2 separate regions of the Homo sapiens genome follow, and region 2 is linked to region 1. The links are contacts of gene promoters, found by promoter capture Hi-C in human tissues and cell types (Jung and others, 2019). All regions are on one chromosome and are shown on one strand. Each heading gives the region's core, a stretch centred on a gene start or on the middle of the fragment in contact. The rest is flanking DNA. Distances are from core to core; before and after follow the strand shown.

The links. The method cuts DNA at HindIII sites, captures the fragments that hold promoters and counts their contacts. A contact is called where the count stands out against the background at its distance.
Region 2: a contact is called between a fragment that was not itself captured here and the fragment with the promoter of TRAF7 in region 1, in 1 of the 25 tissues and cell types used here (spleen).

Annotation. Positions count from the first base shown.
Region 1 is chr16:2,152,177-2,159,199 of GRCh38, reverse strand. TRAF7 (TNF receptor associated factor 7) reads right to left here and starts at 3,418. Exons shown (of 21, transcript NM_032271.3): 1 at 3,342-3,418. SNHG19 (small nucleolar RNA host gene 19) reads left to right here and starts at 3,842. Exons shown (of 2, transcript NR_132114.1): 1 at 3,842-4,057; 2 at 4,278-4,418. SNORD60 (small nucleolar RNA, C/D box 60) reads left to right here and starts at 4,095; the gene lies at 4,095-4,177. RAB26 (RAB26, member RAS oncogene family) reads right to left here. Exons shown (of 9, transcript NM_014353.5): 6 at 6,315-6,380; 7 at 6,155-6,211; 8 at 5,978-6,054; 9 at 5,035-5,881. The coding sequence ends at 5,779. RefSeq lists enhancers at 1,645-2,228, 2,229-2,810, 2,734-2,873, 2,884-2,983, 3,854-4,053 and 1 more and a silencer at 3,284-3,373. The HindIII fragment of the contact is 10,583 bases long and covers 725-7,023 here.
Region 2 is chr16:972,803-978,996 of GRCh38, reverse strand. CEROX1 (cytoplasmic endogenous regulator of oxidative phosphorylation 1) reads left to right here. Exons shown (of 3, transcript NR_164343.1): 3 at 1,904-3,236. LOC124903620 (a long non-coding RNA gene) reads right to left here and starts at 4,928. Exons shown (of 2, transcript XR_007064935.1): 1 at 4,386-4,928; 2 at 3,239-3,656. It also overlaps a transcript of LMF1 not described here. RefSeq lists an enhancer at 5,844-6,194. The HindIII fragment of the contact is 3,125 bases long and covers 1-2,844 here.

The DNA of each region.
Region 1 (7,023 bases), core at 2,169-4,668:
CCTCCAGGCCTGTCTTGCCCTGGCCAAGCCTCTCCAGCGTCCGTATCTCCCTCTGCTCCAGGGAGGGGGTCCCCACAGCTCGGCCAAGGCTTTACCCCAACTTCACAGTAAGGATGCCTTTTGCTGCCCCTCCGACCCCTTGGGGGCTGGCAACATCTCTCAGTCCTTTTTTCCCCTGTATCTCATGGCTGTCTATTGTGTGGGGACCTGGCCCAGTCGAGGGGAAGTCCAGAGGGCTTCCTGGAGGATGAGGCTGCTGGGATCCAGAGTGGGGAGAGTATCCTGGGGCACAGGAAGAGACCCCAGCTTCACAGCTCTGGGCTGGGGAGTGCGTTCCTGGCTCTCACCCAAGTCAAGTGGGCCTCAGACTCTCAGAAACAGGTCGTGAGCTTTGCCCAAGAGCCAAGGGTGGCAGTGTCCCCCCCCCCCCCGCCGAGCCCACGCTTCCCAGTCCCACGCTGTGTTCTCATTTGCTTCCTGTGTGGCTCGGTCTCCCGGGCTCCCTCCTTCCTTCTGCCCTGCAGCAGCAGGGAGCTGACATAAACACTGGCCATACATGGGCCCGAAGAGGCAACAGGAATGTGAGGGCAGAGACCACTGACCCCCTCAGTCACCCAGCGCCCTCATGCCAGCGTGCCACCGCACTGCCACCTCCTTTCCCACACCGTCCCACGGCCCTCAGTCCTGGCCCTCTGCGTCGCTGCCCCCTACTTCCCACCTGGGTGCTTCTGGGGTTGGGTCACCTCCACCCCGAGTTTCCAGGCAGCCGGCTTCCTCCAGCCGGGTGAGGGTGTCCGGGTCTACACGTGACCAGCCCCAGCCTCCAGTGCCCGCTTTCCCCTTTCACCTGCCCCACCTGGCTGCACCCTCCTCCTCCAGGGAGCAAGGCTGGGGACAGCAGCGGATCTGTCAAAGACTAAGGGGTTGGTGGGTCCCTCTCCACAGGTTCCCCCCGCATGATCCACACAGAGGGCCTGGTGAAGTCCTCGGTGCCCACCCACTGAGAAGGCCGGACTGAGACACACGCAGCCAACAGCTCTCGGCCCTCCCCACATGCCCTCCCTGACCCCGCAGGGTGTCCATCCAGGAGATGCTGTGACACCGTGGTCAAGGCCACAGGCACTGGGCTCAGACAGAGCTGGGTTCAAAGTCCACTTCTACCACTTCACAGCTGTGTACCTGCCCTCCTGGCCTCGGGCTTCTCGAAAAACGGAATAGAGCCAGAACCCTGTCTGGAAGGAGCCGAGAGAAGATGGATCCGTCAAGAGTGAAGGCACCCCAGACAGCAGCTCCTCTGCTGAGTGGACCATGGAGGCTGAGGAAGGCGGAGAGGCCGGCCCAGGGACACAGCCAGCAGGCTGTGCCGCTGTGACCAGAGTCACATTCCTTCTGCTTCGTCCACGGCTGCCACACATCCAGGAGCCCCGGCAGCGCCTGAGCCAGTCCCATGCCAAGCCGGGGAGTGGCTGCATCCCAGAGCCAGGCTGCCCAGGCCTCCTGGCCAGGAGGCTCTTCAACTGCATCTTCCTCCTTTCCCCAAACTGCTCATTCCTTGTCCAACCAGCTGGCCGAGAGTCACACCAACCACGGGGTGCCAGGCCCCATGCGGGAGGGTGGGGATGTGTGACGGCTGAACACGAATCTGACCCGGGAGGAGCTAGGAGCCTTGTGGGGGACACAGGCAGACAGAGGGGCAGGAGCCCCACCAATCGCCACTCAATCTGCCAAAGGCACTTTTCGGTGGGTGCCAAAGACCCTGAACTTTTCCATTCACTTCCAGAAATATCGTAACACTTGGCCCCAGTGGGCCACGGTGGAAGTCACTTCACCAGAGACCCTCAGGTTGGGGCGTCAGGTTGGGGTGCTGACTCCCAGCCCCTCCCCTCCTTAGGCCAGGCTGCCCATACCACTGCTCCCCCTCAGGACACGGGGCCCGAGGCTTCCACAGAGAACTATGAATGCCCAGAACAGTGAAGTCAGGATATTCGCAACAGAGAGGCACAGGGAAGGGGTCTAGGAAGGGAGAGGCCCAAAGAGAAGGAATGAGGAAGAGGGAGGCTCCTCACTTGGCGAGGGCTAGGGGGCCTGTGTGTGCCCAGGAAGGGGTCTGAGGGGTAGTGAGAAAGGTGGGCAGACAGGCTGGGCGGCATGAAATTCCTGAGCAAGCCAGCAGCCCCTCACCCCCAAGAGCAGGGTGGGCTCCAGCAGGCCCCTGCCCCTGGACTCCAGACTCAACCCCAGCTGACCACTCTGGCCTGGCTCAAGACAACCGTATCTTGACAGCAGGACCCCAGTGGGGACTAGGAGACGATGGCCTAGCCTCCCTCTCTCCTGCTTCCCCAGTGAACTCTGAAGTCTGTGGTCCACACACAGTTAGAAAGCTCTTTACTGGACCTAGATCGGACCGCCTCTCCAGCGCTTCCTCAACCCCAAGTCATTTGCCAGCATAATAACCCCCCCGCCCCACCCCACCATGCACCCTGTGAGCCTGGTCCGGCCTCATCGACTTCACCTCTCCACTTGCCAGTGCTTGCTGGGGTGCGTCAGGCCCCTTCTCACCCCAGGCCTATGTACATCTGGCTCTTTCTACTTGGAATGCTCCTCCTGCATGTCCTGGGACTGGCTGCTTCTCCAACAGGCCTTTGGCTAACGGTAGCGCCGCCCCTACCCCCGGCCAGTACTCACTTTTTCAGCACCCTCTTTCTTTCTTTCACAGCACATACCGCTGCTCCCCATGATTTTAACTACCTATTGTCAATCCCACCACCCTGTCTGTCTAGATGGGGGATGGGGGGAGTTGTTCCGCAGGAGGCATTTGCCAATGCATGGAGACATTTGTTATCGCAATTGAGGAAGGGGTGGTGTTTACTGGTATCTAGCGGCCAGGAGCCAGGCAAGCTGTTCCACATCCTACAATGTACAGGGCAGCTCCTCGCAGCAAAAAGCGACCCGGGCCGCGTGGTCGATGGTGCGGAGGTTGGGGAACCCTGCAGCAGACGCCGAGCACAGGAGAACTGGGACCGTGTTCTCCGCGGTCTCCCGGCGCCCAGAACAGTGCCTGGCACCCGGGAGTCTCGGGGAATGCAGGAAGAAGGAATGAGTAAAGAACTGCGCGAGAACAGGACGGAGCGAGGGACGGACTACTGACTGGCGGACGGACAGCGACGCGGACCCCGACCCTGACCCCGACCCCGACCGTCTCAGCCCCGCCCCCCCCTCCCCGCCCCGGCCCGACCCCTCGCCTCGCCTCGCCTCGCCTCGATCTCCACGCGCCCGATCCCGCCCCACCGCGCGGTCCCGAGGCGCGAGCCCCGGGTCGGGCGCGCCGCGGGGACACTCACCCGCCCGCGGCCGCCCGGGAGCGGCAGCGCCGCCAGCCCGCTTCATGATGCCCCCTCGGCCGCCGGCCGGGAAAGGGACTAGACGCGCGAGCCGGAAGCGCCAGGCCGCTGCGCCCGCCGGGACGTGTAGTTCCCCGCCTCTCCGGGCCCGGACGGCTGCCTCACGCGCCGCACTTCCGAAACTACGACTTCCGGCGGCCTCGTCGTCGCGGGGCGGGAATGGCAGCTTCAGAATCACTCTATGTTGCAGATCGAAGTCTGATTGGCTTTGTTCATCCGTCACTCACCGTTAGGCTTCACGGACTCTGCATAAGGGAGGAGCTTCGGGTCTGGGTCTGAGAGACCGTCTCCAAAAGAAATGCCACGGTACGATTGGTGGAAACAACGCGGCAGGGAGCGGAGCGTACCAGCGGCGGGGGAAGGCGGGCACTTCCGCCAGGATAGCCCAATGACAGAGGTGGGACAGTTTCTATAAAAGCTTGAGCCTCGCCCGCCCCTGTCTTTTCGGGGTCGAGTCCGAGGGGGAAGAGGTTTGTTAATACGTTCGCCATGTGCTACGATCTTGGGACGAACTGAGCCACGAGCGTGGCTTTGAGGGCCGTCCGAACGCTGCAGGCCGGCCAGGTCCCTGGGCGTCCAGGCCTGGCCTACGCACCACTTTGTCCCTTAGCGTTTAAAGGTTTCTTCCCGAATCTCAGGCCCTCAGCTACCTGCAGGTAAGACTGGGCCGGGCTTGGGTTCCCTTATTCTCCCAGTCTGTGATGAATTGCTTTGACTTCTGACACCTCGTATGAAAACTGCACGTGCAGTCTGATTATTTAGCAAGACTGAGGCTTGAGGGTGCGCACTCCTGACGGGGAGCTGAGAGTGGAAACAGGTGTTGCCCGAAACGAAGGAGTGGGGACTTAATGTCTGTATTTTGGCGCTGACTTTCAGGTTTCGTCGCGAGCCGGCTGCAAGTTTTGAACCTAAGTAAACCTCAATCCGGAGGGCCTAGCGGTAAGGTGGGCGCTGTGTCTATTGAAGTGCTTAGCAATAAAGAAAGGTAGTGAGTTGATTCGGTTTTCTCTCAAGTGTCTTTATTTTCCTATTCTGGCACCCCAGAGGTCTGGCTGATCCACAGGCAATCTTGGAAAAGGGTACAGACATGAAAACGGAAGCTCGTTACCAGTGACTTTTCATCTCTTGGGATTGCCTTCTCCATTTCTGCCCGTGATTTTTTTTTTTTTTTTTTGAGACGGAGTTTTGCTCGTTTCCCAGGCGGGAGTGCGATGGCACAACCTCCACCTCAAGCGATTTTCCTGCCTGAGCCTCCCAAATGGCTGGAATTACAGGCGCCCACCACCACGCCCGGCTAATTTTGTATTTTTAGTAGAGACGGGGTTTCTCCGTGTTAGGCTGGTCTCAAACTCCTGACCTCAGGTGATCTGCCCACCTCAGCCTCCCAAAGTGCTGGGATCACAGGTGTGAGCCACCACGCCCAGTCAAATACTGTTTTTCATGCCTTTTGCCCCAGGGTGAGTCCAAAAAGGCTTTTGAGATTTGTGGAGGGAAGTTGACACCACCTAGGGTTCCCATGTGCCTCCTTAGGGAGGCAGCCATGGGCCATGGAGGAATGGTAGCCACACACCTGCTGAGGGTTCTGGGCCTTGCTGAGTCTCTCAAACTCCAGCATCCTGCTCTAGAAGTGGATTTTTTTCAACAGATGAGACAGACGCTCCAGAAAACACAACTTTATTCACTAGGACTGAAAACAAAGGCTTGTGCAATCAAAAGGCCAAGTTGAGTGCAAGGTGGAGCGTGCTCGGAAATCACAGACCTCACCTGTGGCCAGGCCGGGCTGGCAGTTGTTGTTTCTGGTGTTTTCTGTGATTTCCCACATTTTATCACAAGGCCACAGGCATCCTCCAAGGTCAGTGAGGAAGACCCTATTGCTGTTTGAGCCAGAGCCTCCTAGAGGGTGGGCCGGGAGCAGGCAGCTCCCAGGACACACAGATGCACGATGTGATTAGCAGTGAAGCCTTCTGTCCCAGGCGTGGGCAGGCGTCCTCCCTTAGCTGCCTGAGCATGTGCGGCTGAAGACATGGCTTTTCTAGGGTTAGGCACTGTGCGTGGTGCCAGCCCCAGCCCTCCCTCACCTGGACGTGCCCAGGAGGGGGCAGCAGAGCACCGTGGCAAAGTCTGTCCACTTGCCGCTCCCCGTCCCGTGCAGAAGACTGCTTTTCCGTGGCGGCCAGTGTGCGGCCACGGGCTCTCAGAAGCCTGCTTGTTGGGACTGTTGCTGGGAGGAGGAAGGGACAAGGCTTGACCTGGGGCTCCTGAAAACAGACACTCGGGCGTTGGCCACTGGGCAACAAAGTCAGAAGGGCCTGGAGACCCTCTGTCCAGCCTTCTAGGGACTGGACGGCTTCCTCCAGAGGACTGAGCTCAGCCAGGTTCAAGGGCGGCAGCAGGAGGCCCCTCGACCCTCCCTCTTAACGTAATCATGCAGCCGGAAGCGCGGCTCGCTGGGAGCCTTCATGGAGCGCTGCTTCAACTCCCTGCGGAGTGGGGGTGACAAGGGGACACGATGGCCTGGACTCTAATGAGGATTCAGGCCCTGGGCTGGGGGAGTCCTGGTGACTGGCAGGACTTACTTTGCTATGGCTGTGAAGGCCAAGTCCACGTTGAGGCCCGTCTTGGCGCTGGTCTCCATGAAGGGCAGTCCATACTCCTGTAAACAGCTGCTGCCAGCCAGGTGGTGGCCTGGCGGGGACAGCCTAGGCTCGCAGCCTCCAGGGGCACCCCCTCACCACCCCCCTGCCCTGACTCACCTTGGCCAGCTTCTCCCCGTCCTCCCTCTTCACCACACGCTCATGGGCAGAGTCCACCTGGCCCAGGCACAGGGTCTTGGTGAAAGCTGGCCCATGGTTGGCCCCTGCCCCCTCACCTGCCCTGCCCTGTGGCCCAGGTGAGGACAGCCGGGCCTCCCACCTTGTTCCCCAGCAGCATGAGCGCCACGTCGTGCTGGGCGTACTCGTGGATCTCGGTCAGCCAGGCCTGTGGGAGGCAGCAGACCAGGCTGGGGCTCCCTGCATGGCTTGCCCCATGCCCCAGAACTTTGGCCCTCCAGGTCACACTGTAGAGGGCACCTGTCTTTATCTTTTTTTTTTTTTTTTTTTTTTTGAGACAAGAGTCTCGCCCTGTTTCCCAGGCTGGAGTGCAATGGCTCCATCTCGACTCACTGCAGTCTCCATCTCCTGGGTTCAAGCTATTCTCCTGGGGTTCAGAGAACCTTGGGAGGGTTCAGCCTCCCAAGTGACTGGGATTACAGTTACGCACCACCACGCCCAGCTAATTTTTTGTATCTTTAGTAGAGACGGGGTTTCACCATGTTGATCAGGCTGGTCTCCAACTCCTGACCTCGTGATCCGCCCACCTCAGCCTCCCAAGGTGGTGGGATTACAGGTGTGAGCCACCATGCCCAGCCCATTTTATTTTTTTGAGACAGTTTTGCTCTGTTGTCCAGGCTGGAGTGCCGTAGCACAGTCTTGGCTCACTGCAACCTCAGTCTCCTGAGTAGCTGGGATTACAGGTGTGTGCCAAAACGCCCGGCTAATTTTTGTATTTTTAGTAGAGATGGGGTTTCCTCATGTTGGCCAGGCTGGTCTCGAACTCCTGACCTCAGGTGAGCCGCCATGCC
Region 2 (6,194 bases), core at 33-2,532, 1.2 Mb after region 1:
GGGACTTCAGGAAGGATGGTCTGGGAAAGCATCTTTGGTGTCATTTAAGCTGAGCCCTGAAGCTTCTGATCTCCTGCAGGGAGAGGCCAGCGTGTTCCCTGGGGAAGCTAGAGCAGAGTGTCTGATGACAAGAGATGGACCCGGGGGTGGAGAGTGGAGGGGCAGCCATCAGAGCCACCTCTGAGTCCACCTGATGGGCCCATGTCTTCATCCAGGGGGGAGCTGCACACACACCCTCCTCCCCTGTCTCCCATCCCTGCCCCACCCCTTCAGCTGGGGCCTGCTCCGCCGTGTCTGCATGGCCCCACCCACCCTGACCTCACCACCTGCTAGTGGGCCTTGCAGTTTCAGGGGGAGTGTACGTTTCAAGTATACCCTGATGGGGGAATCTGGACCAGGGCTGTCCCCTGGGCCGTGAGTGCCGGGCGTGGAGAGCTGGTGTAGATGACATTTGTAGCTCCACATGCCCTGGCCTGGGCGCCAAGGACAGCCGCAGAGAAGAATGTGGGTGGACAGGCTCTGCTGCCCATGAGATGGTGCAGGGATGGCCTGGGGGATGCTTCCAGATGAGAGACCACCCCACCCTACCCGTGGCTCCTAGGGATGGCGACCCCGGAGGCGCGTGTGTTCATGTGTGTGTGTGGTGTGTGTTTGTATGGTATGTAATGTGTGATATGTGTATGGGATGTATGTATGGGGTGTGTTTATGGTGTGTGTGGTGCGTGTATAGTGTGTATGGTGCGTGTATAGTGCGTATGGTGTGTATGGTGTGTGGTGTGTATGTGTATGATGTGTGTGATGTATGTGTGTGGGGTGCGTGTATGGTGTGTGGTGTGTGTGTGTGTGTATGATGTATGTGTGTGGTGTGGTGTGTGTATGGTGTGTGGTGTGTGTGTGTCCGTGTGTGTTTGGTGTGGTGTATGTGTGCAGGGTGTGGGTGTGTTTGTGTGTGTGTGATGTGTGGTGTGCGTGTGTATGATGTGTGTGTGTGGTGTGTGTGTGTGCGTGTATGTGTGTGGTGGGGTGTGTGTATGGTGTGTGGTGTGTGTGCGTGTGTATGATGTATGTGTGTGGTATGTGTGTGGTGTGTGTGTTTAGTGTGTGGTGTATGTGTGCAGGGTGTGGGTGTGTTTGTGATGTGTGGTGTGCATGTGTATGGTGTGTGTGTGTGTGTGGTGTGTGTTGGGCCCAGGGCACGAGGAGGAAGCAGGGCTGCCCAGGGAAATGCCACCCTGGAGAGGCCCCTGTCCCTCCCTCTCCGTCCTTCCCTGTGCCCCTCCGTCCCTCCCTGCCCGTCCTCCCCGTCCCCCTCCATCCACCCCCAACCCGGCCCTCCTCCTGCGGCAGGCAGCCCATCTTTTGTGCGGCCTCTGAGAAGCACAGGGAGGGCCCGGCGGGCGTGAACCCGCTGGCAGCCGGTGTGTGCACAGCCTTGGCCCGGGCCTCCCAGCCCCTGCATCCCGAGCACCCGTGGGGCAGTTGGCAGCGTCCTGGCACGGCCTGGGAGATTAATTGGTGCTTTTAATGACGGCTGGTCTGGCAGAGACAGAGTGACTACAGGCTGGGCCGGCGCAGGCTGTGAGCAGAGGCTGGGAAAGGCCCCGCCCCCGGACGGGTCTCCAGGGGAGAGGAGGGGTTCGCAGGACCCCTCTCAAGACCCCCTTCGGGAGTCAGCTTCTTGGCCACGCACACTTGGAGCTCTGGGCTGGGTTGCAGCTCCCTGTACTTCACTGTCTCGGGTGCTGGCAGTGCCAGCTGGGGCACGAGTTCCGGTTTGGGTCAAGGCTGGCCTGTTGGCTGGGGTGGCGTCTGCCTGAGAACTGGCCTTGTCTGTGCCTTAAGCTTCCTGGCGCTCACAGGGCAGTGGAAAACCACTCAGTGAGTCTTTCTTGGCACCTTGCAGGAGCAGTGCTTTCTGGGCCTCTGTAGCCAGAGCTGGCCCTGCTGCAGCTTACGTCTGCCTGCAGCCCAGACGTCCTCCTGGTCCTCCTGATGCCCCCGACCTCCACGGAGGACGAGCATTTCCAGCCCAGCCCTCCCCATCTTCACCTCGCACTCCCCTGACACACTGGGAGCCTCCTGATCCGTGAACCCGCGCTGGCGGGAGTAGCTACTGACCGCTGGGGACCCCTGCCCAGGCTGTTCGCATGTGGAAAGGATTCAGGGAGCAGGCGATGCCCAAAGCGTGGAGACCAGCACTGCTCTCTCCCCAGTGACAGGTGCACGCCCAGATCACGGATGTGTCGGGAACAGCTGTGCTCCTGCTGCTCAGCGTCCGTCACTCCAGGCTGGGAGCGGGTCCCCAAGCTTCTGGCTGGGCCTATCCGTCTCCACTCTCAGTGTGGGGGTGGGGGGCGCCAACAGCACGCATTTGCTCTCTGCACTTCTCGTCTGATAATGGGCAGAGGGTCCTTCTGCAGCCCCAAAACATCCCTAGGCAGGAGCCCTGGGGCCCCAAGCAGCCAGGGAGGTGAGCACCAAGGACCTCCCAGAGAGCGTCACCTTCCGTCGAGGGAGGCCCAGCCTGGGGGCGGTGTCTGAGACTTGGAATCAACGCTTCCGTTGGTGGCAGTAAATCCTGTCCCTAACCCTGCAGTACAGCTGTGCCGTGTACAGGAGGGTGCTGTCTGACGCCAGACACCTGGACTACAGATCGCAGCCTGATTCCTGGTCATTGCTCCACTGAACCCCAGACCCCAGCCTCGTTCTGGGCCCTCATCCCCTAGATCCAGGGACCCCAGCCCCATTTCAGCCCTTGGGCCCTTGTAGGATGCGAGGCCCTGGGCCCCAGCCCCCAGCCCATCCGTGGCCCAGGCACTGGGGGGCTGAGGTCCTCTGAGAAGGGACACAGGGCCTGGGGGGCTCTCTCAGCCCATCAGCAGGAGAGGACTGACTCCAGAAAAATCAGCGTTTGTACCCACTCAGGCTGCCAAGACCTGTGTCCGTCCTTCCAAGCTCAACCTTCAGAGTTCATGAGGCCCCTTGCCCAGAATGTCCACAGAGTTCATGAGGCCCCTTGCCCGGAATGTCCACATTTGAAACCTCCCAACACCGAGCCCCATTTCAAGTATAACCAGGAGGGAAAATGGTGCTTGAAATAAGCATGCCACAAAGGAAAACCTGCTTTCTCGAAATGGGCCCTGGCCGCCCAGGCCCTGACCTCCCCGGCCAGGATGGAACGTTCCAGAGACCCATTAGTGCCAAAGGCAAATGAAAACACACCCTGTGAAAATGTCTCTGCTGTCTCCCAAGTATTTATTTTTCTGAGCGTGGGGAAGGAAGGCTTAATTAAGATGCCCTCAGGCGGGTACGAGGGGCAAAGTGGGAGCAGGGAGCGTGCTTCCTCTGTGGCCTTGGTTCAGACAACAGCCTTCAGCAAAGCTTTGCTCTAGAGGCTCATAGGAAGGGACAGAGGGCACAGGCCCAGCTCAGCCTTTCCCCTGCCTTTCTTGGGGCCTGGGCATGGACAGCACCGCCTGGCGACACACAACGGTGGGCTCTGAGGCTGTTTGTTACGCAGCATTAATGTGGCCGTCGGTGACCGCTACACGGTGACTGATAACTGCACTGTGGGTAGAGCTCAGCCCGCAGGGCTCTGGTTTGTGACCTCTGGGCCAGGCAACTCTCAAGGCTTCTTCCAGTGCAGAATATGATTCCTAGAGAAAAAAAAAAAATTACACATTCGTTTCCTAACATAGGGCCCTGCAACCGGAGAACACCACCACATTGGGAGCTGTGCTTTCCACTGTCTAGAAACCATGGCTTGCCAGCTTGCAGGGTCACATGGAGCCGCATCTCCTTCTGGGGTGCAGGGGTGGGAACACTCGTGACCTGTAGCCGAGGGTGCAGGGAGAGGACAGGGTGAGCCAAGCAGAACAGCCGTCTGTGAGTCATCGTCCCAGGACAACCAGCAAATGGCACAACACCTGCTCTCTCAGCCCCCACCCGCACCTGCCAGCCTCACGTGGGGGGTGGGGGGGTTGGCCGCTGGACAGTCACAGCAGGATCTGCCCAAACTGACCACCCTTCCAGGAGGAGGCAACAGATGTTAGCATCCACGGGTCCTGGGCCCCCCTTCCATACCCAGACTTCAGGACATGAAAAATTGGGGTAAATGAAGGGTGCACGATTATCTTCGGGCCCACACTGGCTTCCTGCGGGTGCCAGAGACAGCTGCCACCGCATGCCAGGGACAATGGCCCCGAGGAGGCGGGAGCTGCCAGGCCGGGGTGCTGGGGGACAGCTGGACGAGGTGCCGACAGGGGCTCATTCCTCCCTGAAGCCGGCCCGCAGCTGCTGGGAGCGTGGCCAGCCACGGGCTTGTGTGTGCCTGGGTCCTGGGGGCTGTGCTGGCGCAGGCCGGGACGGCGGGGACAGGGTCCCACCTAGGGCAGGCTGGTCGGTCTCCGGGGAGGCAGCCCAGTCTTCAGCCTGCGTGCTCTTGGGGTGTCCGTCCCTTCCTCCCCATTCTCCTCCTCTTCTCAGCGTCTTCTCCCCCAGCACCGGGCAGCCCTGGGGTGGCCGAGCCTCATCTCCACTCCCCTCCCTCAGGCCTCTCCTGGGTCAGCCTGGCTTTTTCTCTTAGAGTTTTTGCTTGACAGGGCACTCTCAGGACGCCCTCCTCCTCCTCCCGCCTCGGGTTGGTGTGAGGCGCTCAGGGCAGGGCCCACGTGCCTGTGGTCACAGGACACTGAGCTGCAGGGTGAAAGGACCACACCTGGCCGATCTCCCGGCCGCTGCAGCTCACTCTGGGTTTGCAGAGAAGCCTGTTTTTAAGTGAAGTGCCTTCTTAGAGAATAAGACACACCTGTATCTAAATGTTATTTTTAAACTGCTAGATGCGCCTTAATATAGACAAAGAAGTAAGGTGAGCGTAAATGACATGATGTATTCCGACAGGTGACAGCGCCTTCCGGGCGATTCTGAAACACCAGTGCAGGGCTGTCTGTTGTCTTTTGTTTTCATTTTACTTTTTTTTTTTTTTTTTGAGACAGAGTCTCGCTCTGTCGCCCAGGCTGGAGGGCAGTGGCACGATCTCGGCTCACTGCAAGCTCCAGCCCCCGCGTTCACGTCATTCTCCTGCCTCAGCCTCCCGAGTAGCTGGGACTACAGGCGCCCGCCACCATGCCCGGCTAATTTTGTTGTTGTTGTTGTATTTTTAGTAGAGACGGGGTTTCACCGTGTTAGCCAGGATGGTCTCGATCTCCTGACCTCGTGATCCACCCGCCTCGGCCTCCCAAAGTGCTGGGATTACAGGCGTGAGCCCCGGTGCCCGGCCTCATTTTACTTTTCTAAAATTCGAGGCGAAATTCACATAGCATGAAATAAGCCATTTGCCAGTGAACGACTCGGTGTTTAGCACCTCACAGTGCTGGGCAGCCATCGCCTAGTTCCAGAAGATTCTCATCAGCCCAAAAGAAAACGTCCTACCCCCGGACCACTGGCTCCCCACTCCCCGTCCCCAGACCTGGACCACAGAGCTCCCTCCTTTCCCCGTGGCTTTGCCCACCCCGGACATTTCATGTAAATGGGCTCACGCAACTCATGACCTCCGCGTCTGTCCTGTCCCACTGAGCTTGATGTTCTGAGGTTCATCTGTGTTGTAGCACGTGTCAGAACTGGATTCCTTTTTATTTTATGTTTTATTTTAGTGAGACAGAGTCTCGCTCTGTGGCCCAGGCTGGAGTGCAGTGGCGCGATCTAGGCTCACTGCAACCTCCACCTCCCGGGTTCAAGCGATTCTCCTGTCACAGTCTCCCGAGTAGCTGGGATTACAGGTGCCCGCCACCACACCTGGCTAATTTTTTTGTATTTTTAGTAGAGGCGGGGTTTCACCATGTTGGCCAGGCTGGTCTTGAACTCCTGACCTCAGGTGATCCACCTGCCTCGGCCTCCCAAAGTGCTGGGATGACAGGCGCCCGGCTCCTGGATTCTTTTTGATGGCTGAATCATAACCCAGTGCACTTTTGATTAAATTCAGGCTGAAATGGGCACGACCAGAGCTGCTGGTCCACCTCTCCCCGGCCCAAGCCCTGCCCCCGGTGACCTGCTCTGGAGCCATTCTGGGCAGTGGATGGGACCCCTGCGGTCAGCGTCTCAAGAGAGCAGACCCTGAGGGAAACTTGAGCTCAGAGAGAACAGGAGCTCCCAGCAGACCCTTCCGCTGACTGCTCCCACCCTGGGCAAATGCAGAG